Regions from separate parts of the Homo sapiens genome. Here region 1 is linked to region 2. Evidence: promoter capture Hi-C in 16 types of primary human blood cells and fetal thymus (Javierre and others, 2016). All regions are on one chromosome and are shown on one strand. Each heading gives the region's core, a stretch centred on a gene start or on the middle of the fragment in contact. The rest is flanking DNA. Distances are from core to core; before and after follow the strand shown. Region 1 overlaps PITPNM3 (PITPNM family member 3). Region 2 holds the start of MED31 (mediator complex subunit 31).

The links. Contacts are between HindIII fragments. The CHiCAGO score rates a contact against its expected background, and 5 or more counts as called.
Region 1: a contact is called between a fragment that was not itself captured here and the fragment with the promoter of MED31 in region 2, in 1 of 17 cell types (megakaryocytes). The highest score is 9.4, in megakaryocytes.

The regions. Positions count from the first base shown.
Region 1 is chr17:6,472,516-6,478,383 of GRCh38, reverse strand. It overlaps PITPNM3 (PITPNM family member 3), which reads left to right. Exons shown (of 20, transcript NM_031220.4): 8 at 287-409; 9 at 1,171-1,355; 10 at 3,780-3,952; 11 at 5,557-5,727. Among named protein-coding and RNA genes, the nearest start is that of PIMREG, 31 kb to the right of the region's middle. RefSeq lists enhancers at 3,143-3,734, 3,735-4,327. The HindIII fragment of the contact is 7,172 bases long and covers 1-4,867 here.
Region 2 is chr17:6,647,486-6,653,425 of GRCh38, reverse strand. MED31 (mediator complex subunit 31) reads left to right here and starts at 1,821. Exons shown (of 4, transcript NM_016060.3): 1 at 1,821-1,925; 2 at 2,993-3,070; 3 at 3,348-3,444. The coding sequence starts at 1,898. C17orf100 (chromosome 17 open reading frame 100) reads right to left here and starts at 1,664. Exons shown (of 1, transcript NM_001105520.2): 1 at 1-1,664. The coding sequence starts at 1,512. The coding sequence ends at 1,156. RefSeq lists silencers at 1,297-1,346, 1,647-1,726 and enhancers at 1,977-2,106, 2,177-2,256, 2,347-2,406. The HindIII fragment of the contact is 11,591 bases long and covers 1-3,382 here.

The DNA.
Region 1 (5,868 bases), core at 32-2,531, 170 kb after region 2:
TAGAAAAACAGAGGCCAACAGTCTGAGTTCTGATTCTGAGCCCATGCTGCTCTCTAGCCCAAGTCTGACCCCTGAGAGTAGCCTACTCCCCGTCCTTGGGCTGGCCTGGGCCAACGCCAACCCTGACCCTCCCCAGTTTGCACACTGCTTCCCAGTTGGGCTCTCTCAACACCTCCCAAGGACGAGTTTCTCATTCTCCTGTGGGGAGGCAGCACTGCTCTGGCCGGGTGTGGGGGTGAGGGGTCAGCAGTGGGCAGGCCTGCAGTCCCAGCTGCATCTCTTCCAGGTGTGTCTCATCGGGGACTGTGTGGGGGGCCTCCTGGCCTTCGATGCCATCTGCTACAGTGCGGGGCCCTCAGGGGACAGCCCTGCCAGCAGCAGCCGGAAGGGGAGCATCAGCAGCACCCAGGTACAGCCGGGGGACAGGACCGCGGGAGGGGTATGCCCATAGGAGCAGGGCCTGCCCCTCGGGGAGAGAGTGCTGGTTCTTCACGTTGGCACCATGACATCCAGGTCACAAAGAAGTGTATCATAATCCAGCTGGGCGCAGTGGCTCATGCCTGTAATCCCAGCACTTTGGGAGGCCGAGGTGGGCAGATCACCTGAGGTCAGGAGTTTGAGACTAGCCTGGCCAACATGGTGAAATCCCATCTCTACTAAAAATACAAAAATTAGCCGGGCATGGTGGTGGGTGCCTGTAATCCCAGCTACTTGGGAGGCTGAGGCACGAGAATCACTTGAACCCAGGAGGTGGAGTTTGCAGTGAGCCAAGATCGCACCACTGCACTCCAGCCTGTGTGACAGAGGGAGACTCTGTTTCAAAAAGGAAAAAAAAGAAGAAGAAGAAGAAGAAGTGTATCATAATTCTACAAGAGTAGCAGGGGATTATTATGACAGGTGTGGAAACTGAGGCCTGGAGAGCTGGATTTGGCCCCTTCGACAGCCATCCAGCATCCCAGTGGGAATGTCAATCCCGGTGGATGCGGGAGAGAGCCTGTGCCTAAAATCCTACCATGATTGCAATGTGGCTTCCTGTGTCTTTTGGAAGAAGGGTAGCCCCTCACATCTTAGGATGAAGGGGTTGGTTTGTGCTTGGGGGGAGGAGACAAGGCCCCAGAGTCTCCCGTGACAACAGTCTTTTTCTCTCCTGTCCCCTGTTCGGTCCCAAAGGACACCCCAGTCGCGGTGGAGGAAGATTGCAGCCTGGCCAGCAGCAAGCGTCTCAGCAAAAGCAACATTGACATCTCCAGTGGGTTGGAGGATGAGGAGCCCAAGAGGCCGTTGCCGCGGAAACAGAGCGACTCCTCCACCTATGACTGCGAGGCCATCACCCAGCACCATGCCTTCCTCTCAAGGTAGCCCCTCCCTGTCCAGAAGCAAGAAGACCTTGGCTCAGAGCCAACTGGGAGGGCTGTGACCAGTCAGATGTCCCAGGCCCTTCCATGGGGGCCCATAGATAAGCACTGAAATGCTGGGACCAAGGCCACTCGCCATCGGCCCTGTACTGAGGGACCACAGCCACTCGTCGGCAGCCCTGTACTGAGACTCTGGAACCTGGTTCCCTGTCCCTGCCCTGCTCTGACTTGCAGAGAGACTGGGAACAGTCGTCCTTTTCTGAGCCTCGGCTTTTCTTCTGCAAAAAGATAATGCTGCCCAGCCTACTTCACTGCATGGTTTTAAGAACCTGGCGGAGTAATTGCTGTGACTGTGTTTTGTGAGTCACCCGAGGTGTGTGTTGTTATCATTTCTCATAGGGAAAGAGAGGGTCAAGTAGGTCAGGAACTTTCTAGAGGTCATGCAGCCAGTGACGGAAGAGCTGGGATCATCATTCTGGTCTCCCTATCCCAAGTTCATGTATCTAATCCAACACACTTTTGTTTATGGGCCAGGCAGGCTCCTCTACAGAACTGTTTGCCCTTTAACTTTCTAGAAGAGACATGTTAATCAATGTGGGCTAAACACATTATCTGCACATTAATTCAGCTTACACGTTAATTGAACTTGGACCCAAATTGGAAGGAATGTCTCTTTCTTTTTCCTCTGCTCCTCAGCTCTCTTCTTCCTTCCTTTCTCCTTCCTCCTTACCCAAGTGATAAGTATCATGAGGTCATTACAACATTTGGAAGATAATCATCTCACCACCCAGAGGGAGCCAACAGTCTCATTGTTAACATAGAGACTGTTTCCTTCTACATGCTTTTAAGATCGTTTTATTTTAAAAAAACCCTTTATATTGTGATCTTTTCCTGATATAATTAAAAATACTTGATAAATATTCTTAATGGCAATATAATGTCGAATGAATGGATATCAGTTTACTTAATCCCTATAATTAGGCATTTTGGCTGTTTCCAATTCCTTAGCAGTATAAATAGCCCTACAGTGAACATCTTTGTGCATAAACGTTAATGTATATATTAGGGTGATTATATTTGGATGGATTCCTGGAGGAAGAATTATTAGGTCAAAGACTCTGCACATTTAAATCTCTGAATGTTTAAAGCCCCGCTGACAGATGATCCTTTAGAAAAGCAGCTACCTTCTAGTGAGGCTTGCAAGGTGAAAAATCTCAACAGTCCTGGCTCATCCTTGAAAAATCCTTTAGGAGAGCCCCAAATTTGGAGAGTGATGAGAAGTTGGAGGCTTCCAGGAGCTGGTCTGACACAGCCAGCTTTCCCCTCTGGTGTAGGGACAGATGGTGGTTTCTTTGGCAATTAAGTAGTTGGCATGTGTTTAGGGACCACGCTGTACATGAAATATGTATTGTTAAACATCAGAGTCATCATCTCACTGTGAGATGCTCACACTGCAAGAGGCAGGAGGGAGTGCGGAGACTGAGGATTCAACTTTGCAGACTCGCTCACTCCTGAGGGTGGGGCACTTGTCCACATGATTTCAATAGCTCTTTCTAAAGTTTGTTCTCCTCTGACTCAAGTAGTTTAGTTGCTTTGCATTCAGTTAATCGATTCACTCTAAGCTGCAGCTAATGGCTAGCTGGAAGGTCAGGGAGGTGCCCAGGTTTCCTTCTGATTCTCAGCGTCCTACTCTGGGTCTGTGGCTGAACGTAACTTGGATTCTTCCCGGGACAGTGGGCACCTGGGTTGGAAATGGTTGGAATTCTGTGTGTCTCACATTTTTCTCCTTAAGCTCTGCTTCATCTGTGGGCTGGGGCTGGGGGTGGGGAGACCAAGCTGTTTGCATCTGTGTCTGCGGGTTGCCTGGAACAGGAATTACGATGAAAGCCCTGATCCCAGCAGAACAGAACTGACGTTAGCCAGCTGAGTGTTGGGCAGGCTGGGCTTGTCTGGTACACAGTGCAGGAATCCTCAGTGTGGCCAACACAAAGCCAGCATGACGAGGCAGGCCTGCCAGTGTGTAGGATGCTCAGGCGCCCCAGGTGCTCAGCCTGTTTTTGTAAGTAACATTTGATTGGATCCCAGCCATGCATATTTAATCACTGTCCATGGGCGCTTTTATGCTGCAATGGCAGAGTTAACTAGATGCAATGGAGACCACACGGTCCATGTCGTCTGAAATATTGACTCTCTGGCCCTTTGCAGAAAAAGTTTGTTGATTCCTTTTCTAGCCAAATATCAGCCAGGCCTTGGTGGCCAGTGCTGACTGTAGGTGGTGTGCAGCCGGTGGACTCTCAGCCCCGCCCCAGAGATGGAGGGTTGGGCACTTCACGCTCAGAATTCAGGCTGCGCTGCTGTGTGAACACTCCCGCATTCTCGGTCCTTCCCTGACCTGCCCTGCCCTGCGTCCTCCTCCCTCCGCAGCATCCACTCCAGCGTGCTAAAGGATGAGTCTGAGACCCCGGCGGCTGGGGGGCCGCAGCTCCCTGAGGTCAGCCTGGGCCGCTTTGACTTCGATGTGTCCGACTTCTTCCTCTTCGGCTCGCCACTGGGCCTGGTCCTGGCCATGCGGAGGACGGTGCTGCCTGGGCTGGACGGTAGGGATGGTGTGGGCTGGGGCCTGAGGTGCCTGTGCGTCACTAGGGCCACCGTGTCAGGGCCTCAGAATGAGGAGAGTGAAGTCGGGGACAGGGGCAGGGAGGGTCACAGAGTTGGGATAGGTGGAAAGAGAGGAGAGAGGGTGGGGAAGAGGAGGGAGAGAGGAGCAGCTTCCCTCCTGACACAGGGCGAAGGTGAGGCAGCTTCAGATGGATTTCACTCTCCATGTCAAGTGCCCCTGGCTGCTTTGTGGCCTCATTGTCCGGTGGTCACGCCCTATGGGGAAGAGAAGACAGAATATTCAACCTCTTGCCTCCCACCCTCTCCTTCTCCTGTACTGAGGCAGATACGACTGCCAGGTTGGTCTCACCACCCACCCCCGCATATCCCCAAGCCCACCTCAGGTGCCTTTGCTCATGCAATACCTGCAACCTTTTTTTTTTTTTTTTTTTTTGAGATGGAGTCTCACTCTGTCACCCAGGCTGGAGTGCAGTGGCGCGATCTCAGCTCACTGCAACCTCTGCCTCCCGGGTTAAACCAATTTTCCTGCCTCAGCCTCCCGAGTAGCTTGAAGTACAGGCACCCACCATGACGCCCAGCTAATTTTTGTATTTTTGGTAGAGATGGAGTTTCACCATGTTGGCCAGGCTGGTCTCGAACTCCTGACCTCAAGTGATCCACCCGCCTTGGCCTCCCAAATTGCTGGGATTACAGGCGTGAACCACCGTGCCCGGCTAATACCTGCAACCTCGAATGCCTTTTCCTGCTCCTCTAAAATGTACACACCAGGCGATTGGCACCAGCAGGCATGAGGGGTGGGGAGGGTATCTGTGACTCTTAAGGACAGAAGTACAGACCGTCTGAGGCTGCAGGGCACCTTGGGTATCCACAGATCCATGCTTTTGGCCAAAGCTTACTGACAAGCTACAGTATGGAACAGATAAAGTGGGTGGTAGAAATGGAGGCGAGGAGGCAGAACCCCATGGCTGCCCTCAGTGTCGCTAATGAACCCTAGGGCTCCCTGGATGCTGGACGGTCCAGTCCCTGTTCTAGGAGGACAGGGAGGCCCGCCGATGAGGTGGATGCCTCAGTGGAGACACCTGCTGGTCAGCGAGAGAAGTGTTCCACCAGCTCTGGCAAACCTGGAACTCTAGCAGCAGGCCTGGGAACTGAGTGTTTATAGCCTTGAGGCCTGTGGAAGGGGCAGCTGACCTGCCTGAAGGAACCTGGGTTGGCTTCCTAGGTCAGGTGGTAACTGAGTGAAAACTGGAAGAATCTAAAGGAGTTGCCCCGTGGAAATGGGGGAGGGAGGGCCCACAAGGAGAAGGGATGTTTTGAGCAAAGGCTCAGAGAAAGGAAAGCTGCAAGCCTGATTGGGGAAGGGCAGCTGTGCAGCACGGCTGCAGTGCTGGGTGCCTGTCACTGCGCTCCTGGGTGGGGAGACAAACTGAACGTAATGGCTTTGTTCCCGTGGGGAGCAGGGAGCCCGGGGAGGCTCTTGAGAGGGGAGTAGGCTACTCCAGGCTGCATTCCAGGGAGCCTCCTAGGGCCCAGGGAGCAGGTACTAGAAAGTGGCTTCCCTCTGTCTTCCCACTCACCCCAGGCTTCCAGGTGCGTCCTGCCTGCAGCCAGGTCTACAGCTTCTTCCATTGCGCAGACCCCTCTGCCTCACGGCTCGAGCCACTGCTGGAGCCCAAGTTCCACCTGGTGCCGCCTGTCAGCGTGCCTCGCTACCAGAGGTTCCCACTGGGCGATGGGCAGTCCCTCCTCCTCGGTAGGTTCTTGGGGGTGGGAGAGAGTGTGCTGAGCTGGAGGTGGGGCCCCAGCCCATTCAACCCCTCCAAGCTCTCAGTGAGTAGGGTGACTCACCTGAGCAGGGGCTGTGAGAACAGAAGGTTAGCCGACTCCTCTGTCT
Region 2 (5,940 bases), core at 572-3,071:
AAATTGTCTTGTTTCATCATTGCTTGTCTGCCTTTTCACCAGAGTGTAAGCTCCACTAGAGCTGGGACTTTGCCTTTTTTACTGCTATAGCCCAAGTTCCCAGAATACAGACAGTTCCCAACTTAAGATGGTTTGACTTATGATTTTTCGACTTTACAATGGTACAAAAGTGACATTCAGTAGAAATAGTACTTTAAGTACTCTTACAACCATTCTTTTTCACTTTTAGTACAGTATGCAATAAATTACATGAGATATTCAACATTTTATTATAAAACAGGCTTTCTGTTAGATGATTTTGCTCAACTTTAGGTGTTCTGAGCATGTTTAAGGTAGGCTAGGCTAAGCCATGATGTTTAGTAGGTTAGGGGTATTAAGTGCATTTTCAAATTACCATATTTTCAACTTACAATAGTTTCAACGGGAGGTAACCCCATCGTAAGTGGAGGAACATCTAGTGCCTGGCACAGAGCCGGTTCTCAATAAATATAACTCTTCTCCATCTTCTTCAAACCTCAGGCCAGGTTTCAGTGACCTCCTCTCACTTTCTAAGATTATTTTTGCTTGCTGGTGGGTTTACTGTCATTTTTAACCACATCTAACCTACCTTAAAAAAGTGTATGGATGGGGGTGCCAGGTACAAAGACTTAGCATAAAGAAAACGACCATTTACTTTGAAACATAAACAAAGGCCAATTAATAATTTATGAGTCTGTTCCTTGTCCCTCGAGTTTTTAGCAGGCATGGAATCATTCCACAGGTCATTATTTCAGTTTGGTCTCTGTTCCTAAGGGGTGAAGGTTTTCTGAGGGCTGTGGATCCCAAACTCACCTGGCTCAGAGGCTCAAACAGCCTCTCTTTGTCCATCAACCCGATTTAGACAGCATCCTGGGCCTGAAAACCTTCTGTGCTGGCTTCAAGTGAAAATAGTTCACTGGGTCAAAAGTAGGCTGGTCCAAGACGCAGGACGGTCAGTAAACGTTGGCTGTGTTCAGAAACTGCGGCTTGGCTGTTTCTTACATTGATTTATGGTTTGTTTCCATGAAACCGAAAATGATTGGTCCACCTGGCAGCTGGCTGGCTGGCTGGCAACTGGAGGCCTTTCTGTCCTGGCTGAGGGCCCTGGCCCCTTGGTGGCCTTTGGGAAGCAGCATCTCATCGGGCCGTTTTTTCGTTCTGGCGGGCGGCCGGCTTGGCCCGCGGGGTCGGGCTCTCCGCGCAGTGCAGAGACGTCTCCACCCTCAGGGACGAGGCTCTGACGTGGCGGGAGGTCGTTTCCGTGCGCTGCGAGGAGGATTCCACGTGCCGGGAGGACGCCTCGAGGATGCGAGGGAGCCGCTTCCCCGAGGGGGAGAGGGAGGGCCCCTCGCTGCGGCGCTGGGAGGTCTCCACCCGCCGGGACGACGTCTCCACGCGGTGGGACGAGGTCTCCACGCGGACCGTGGACGTCTCTGTGTAGCGGGTGGTCCCCACCCGGGGCGAAGACTGCTTGGCCCCTCGGGCTGAGGCCATTCTGCCGGCGTGAGGGGGCCAGGGAGGCCTCGGGGCACCCTACAGCCCAATGGTCACCGCAGGCAGAAGAGAGGAAAACTACGGTACTGCCATAGCCGGGAGCGCCACAACACGATGACGTGGAAGCACCATGGTCCTTCGAAGGCTAAAACACTGGACTCCTGCCCCTCAGGCGCTCCCACGGCCCGGGCCCCGCCCCCTCGCTATTTTGGAGCCAGCGCGGGTGGAGCCATCCCAGGGCTGGTCGGGGATGGGCGGAGCCGCCCCGCCCCATATCCCACAGTGCCCCGGGACCGGAAGAGGGAGCCGTGGTTTCCGGAACTTCGCCCGCGTCTCTGGGCTTTTGCTCTGTCAGGCTGGTGGCGTTTTGGTGTCTTCGTTTGTTATGGCCGCTGCTGTCGCTATGGAGACAGGTGAGTAGCTCTCTGATCTTGGAGTCTTCGCAGATGGAACTCTCCTTGACCCAGACCTCTTCCCCGTGGCCTCCTTCCAGGCCTTACTCTTGGCAGGGTTAATATTTGGACAGAGAGGAGAGAAGGCTCTTGTAGCGTCTAGAAAGACTAAGGTACTCTTTGCAGTTTTCCTGATTTGGTTTGTTCGCACATCTTTGCTATTCAGACACCACCCCACCAGCTCCCTGGCGTGGGTGAGACTAAGGGAGAGGACTTGTGTGTTAAACCGTGTCCTCCTTGATTGGTTTTCTGCTTCTCACATGAGCTTGCCTAAGTTTGAAATATCGTCGCCAGACTTGTGTATCATTCTGCTACTGGTGCTTCTTTTTTTTTTTTTTTTTGAGACAGCGTCTGGCTCTGTCGCCCAGGCTGGGGTGCAGTGGCGCGATCTCGGCTCACTGCAAGCTCCGCCTCCTGGGTTCACGCCATTCTCCTGCCTCAGCCTCTCAAGTAGCTGGGACTACAGGAGCCCGCCACCGCTCCCGGCTAATTTTTTTTGTATTTTTAGTAGAGACGGGGTTTCACTGTGTTAGCCAGGATGGTCTCGATCTCCTGACCCTGGTGCTTCTTATATGCATGCGCTGCATGATCTTTTAGGCTCTCCGCAGTCTCTTGCATCCTAAGTTTTTCTTTACTGATTCAGCCCCTAGCGTTTGCGAAACTTAATCACTGTTAACAGTTGTTACAACGCATTATTAAAATAGGGGAAGCCACAGTTATTACAGCCTACCTTAGTGATCACTGTTAAAATTCCTACATAGTGGCCCACGAGTGGTAGGAATTCTCCGTTTGTGTTGCTGTTTTCTTTGATGATTTCTCTTTAACTTTAGAGAAACTTCTAACTTACTCCTTTTAATCAGGGCTCCGCTTTTCTTAGATTTCGAAGGAAGGTTTATCTCCTCCCACTCCTAGTTTAGGAAGACCATCTCAACATTAGTCAGGTTTCTTTATTGCTCTTTCCTTACTACAAATCAGTATTATATACAGTGACCTTTGTTTTCCATGATTTTTGCTGTCTTGTCTCCTAGATGATGCTGGAAATCGACTTCGGTTTCAGTTGGAGTTGGAATTTGTGCAATGTTTAGCCAACCCAAATTACCTTAATTGTAAGTTGTTAAGCACCTCATTAAATTGAGTAGCTATTAATGATTTCTGACAGAAGAGTTGCAGTTCAAAATAGTATCTACTTTTACACATTCTCAGTTGAATGACATTACACTTATGCTGGTATATAGATATAATTGCGTACTGGGACTTGTGTTTTGAATCCAATGTGTGTTGGTGGTGGGGGTGTTATGTAAATAGATCCTTTATATTAGGGGTAACAAATCACAGTTTAAGGATTGGTTTGACCTACAGATTTTTTTTTTTAATGCTTTTCAGTTCTTGCCCAAAGAGGTTACTTCAAAGACAAAGCTTTTGTTAATTATCTTAAATACTTGCTTTACTGGAAAGACCCAGAATATGCCAAGTATCTAAAGTAAGTTTAATTTTTATAATCCTAAGCATGTGTATACTTTATTATATAATAGATTTCTTAGTTTCACATTGGCAAAAATGTATTTGGAATCTCTCCACTTCTTTTTGTTATCACCGTCTTAATACAAGACACCCTCATCTCTAACTTGTAACACTGCAGTAATCTACTCCCTGGTTATCTGTGCTTCCACTTTTACCTTCCTGCCCCCATCTCCACCCCAACCCAAACCAAGCAAAACAGCTTTCTACACAGAAACCAGCTTAATCTTTTAAAAATATAAATCAGAACACTTTACTTTCTTGCTTAGAACCTTTCAATGGCTTTCCATTCCATGCAGAATAAAATCCAGTCTTTTTTCTTGGACTAAAGCCTTATACGATCTGGCCCTGCCTTTTCTGACCTTGTCTTTTACCACCCTTCCCATCTCACCAGGTTTCTGGTCCCTAAGAACTCACAATCTGTAAATGTAGTAGCATAAGCCATGGGCTGAAATTAAAAGAGGGTATCTGTAAGGAAGGTGTTTCTGGGGTTATTTGAAGGAGGTGATCTTACCTGAGTCTTAGAGTTGCTGTCTTTTATTTAAGGCCTCTTATTTGCCAGGAACAGTGCTAAATGCTTCATATGCATTAACTCATTTATATATATATATTTACCATTCAGGTCGTTCAGCAGACACTTTCATGTTAAGGCTTACTAAGTTGCAAGAAACATATTATAACCACAAAGCAATTCCCTTTTAATGGTTAAAAAAAAAAAACAAAAAAAACAAAAAAAACCAACCCACCTTGAACTCACACCCCTGCTTTGTCTTAAGCAGGTAGAAAGCAATAATGAACCTTTAAAAAAAAAAAAAAGTTTGAGAGGAAAATGTTTCAAACTTCTCTCAAAGTCACTTTTCTGTGTCCAATAACAATTGACTCACGAAGCACATACGTCTTATGTTGCCTGCAGGACCGTTTGCACCTTTTCTGGCTTTTTATCCATTTAATAATCCAAAGAACAGACTTTTAAGAAAAGTAGACTTCAACGAATATTGTATGTATGTAGATTTACAGACTCAGTGTTGGAAGCCTTAGCCACCAACAAGTTTAATCTTACCCACAACGTTGCCGAGAGATGGTCATCTACACTCTGGAGGTTTCCATTGAGCCCGTGTTACTCTGTCAGGGACAGCTGATTCGATTGTTAGCCAGATATTAGAAAGTTCTTCCTTATATTGTGATATAATGTACCTCCTTGTAGCCCCAGTCTGTTTGTCCCTGGATGAAGCTAGAACCATTCTATACCCTCTTGAGGACAACAGCCTTCCAGATATTTACATTCAAGAGAGACTGCAAATTAGCCCCTTTTGGGTGTTTTATTCAGTCTGCAGAAGATTTTAGTTTTTTTAATACTTGCCAACATTTAAAGATCAGAAAGTTGTATATAACAAATGCAGATTTCCAGCTACTCTTTCAAATCTGGAAGATCTAGTAACCATAGATCTTAATTCTCCCAAGTCAACAACTGGGCTGAAGCTGAGAGCAGCTGTCACTACTAGCTGCTTTCCACCTGGTGGAAGAGACACTTTCTACCACTTGGCCTGCTTCATTGATAGCCAGTAGGTGCCACTATAACATCTCTCTTCCATCTATTTTTCTCAACTACCCTCTGCCATTGTGCCATGGTGTCCAGAGTTCTCATGAGTTGAGGTTCCCTCCTTTGGATATTTGGCAGTTGTACTTTATGCAGTTCAGCCAAGAACTAAACACAGGCCTTCAGGTGTGGTCAGAGTACAGTGGGCCAGAGGTCCTTTCTTTTCTTCATGTGGTCATACACCTCTGTTAATTCAACTTAAGTTTATATTACTTTTGGGGGTGGGAGTGGGGAAGAGGATCACATTGTTGACTTGCTGGAAGCATTATGTCAACTAAAATCCTTCAGTTCTTATTTTCATCATGCTGTTGGGTTCTCCCTATGTTGTTTCTTTTTAAAAACACCAAATGCAGAACTTCCCTTTTATACTGCTTCTATTTCATCTTGTTGACTTGTAGCCTATCAGAGTATGATTCTTTATTGTCATCTAAGGTATTCTGATATAATCACTGCATGTCTAAATTCTAGTTATTGACTAAATGCTACTTGAGACCATTCTCTTGGTTGTCACATTATTTTACAGTTGAAGAAACTGAACCTTAGAGAGGTTAAGTACCTTGTTAAAGGCCACCTGGCTGGAACATAACATCCTGGTCATTTTAACTACTAATGCTGTCATGAAAGGGAGTTAGCCAGGGCAGGTGTGAATAGAGCATTCTAGCATAAGCAGCCAACAATTAGAGCAACTGTGTATTTTTAGTGTGTGGATAGCAAATCTTTGCTGTCTTGGAAGTTACTATCTTAGAAGCATGGTATTAAGCCCTCTATTCAATGTGGTGTTCACATCAGTAGCATTGGTTTCATTTGGGAGCTTTTTAGAAATGCAGAGCTCAGGCCCCACTCCAGGCCTAAGGATTCAAT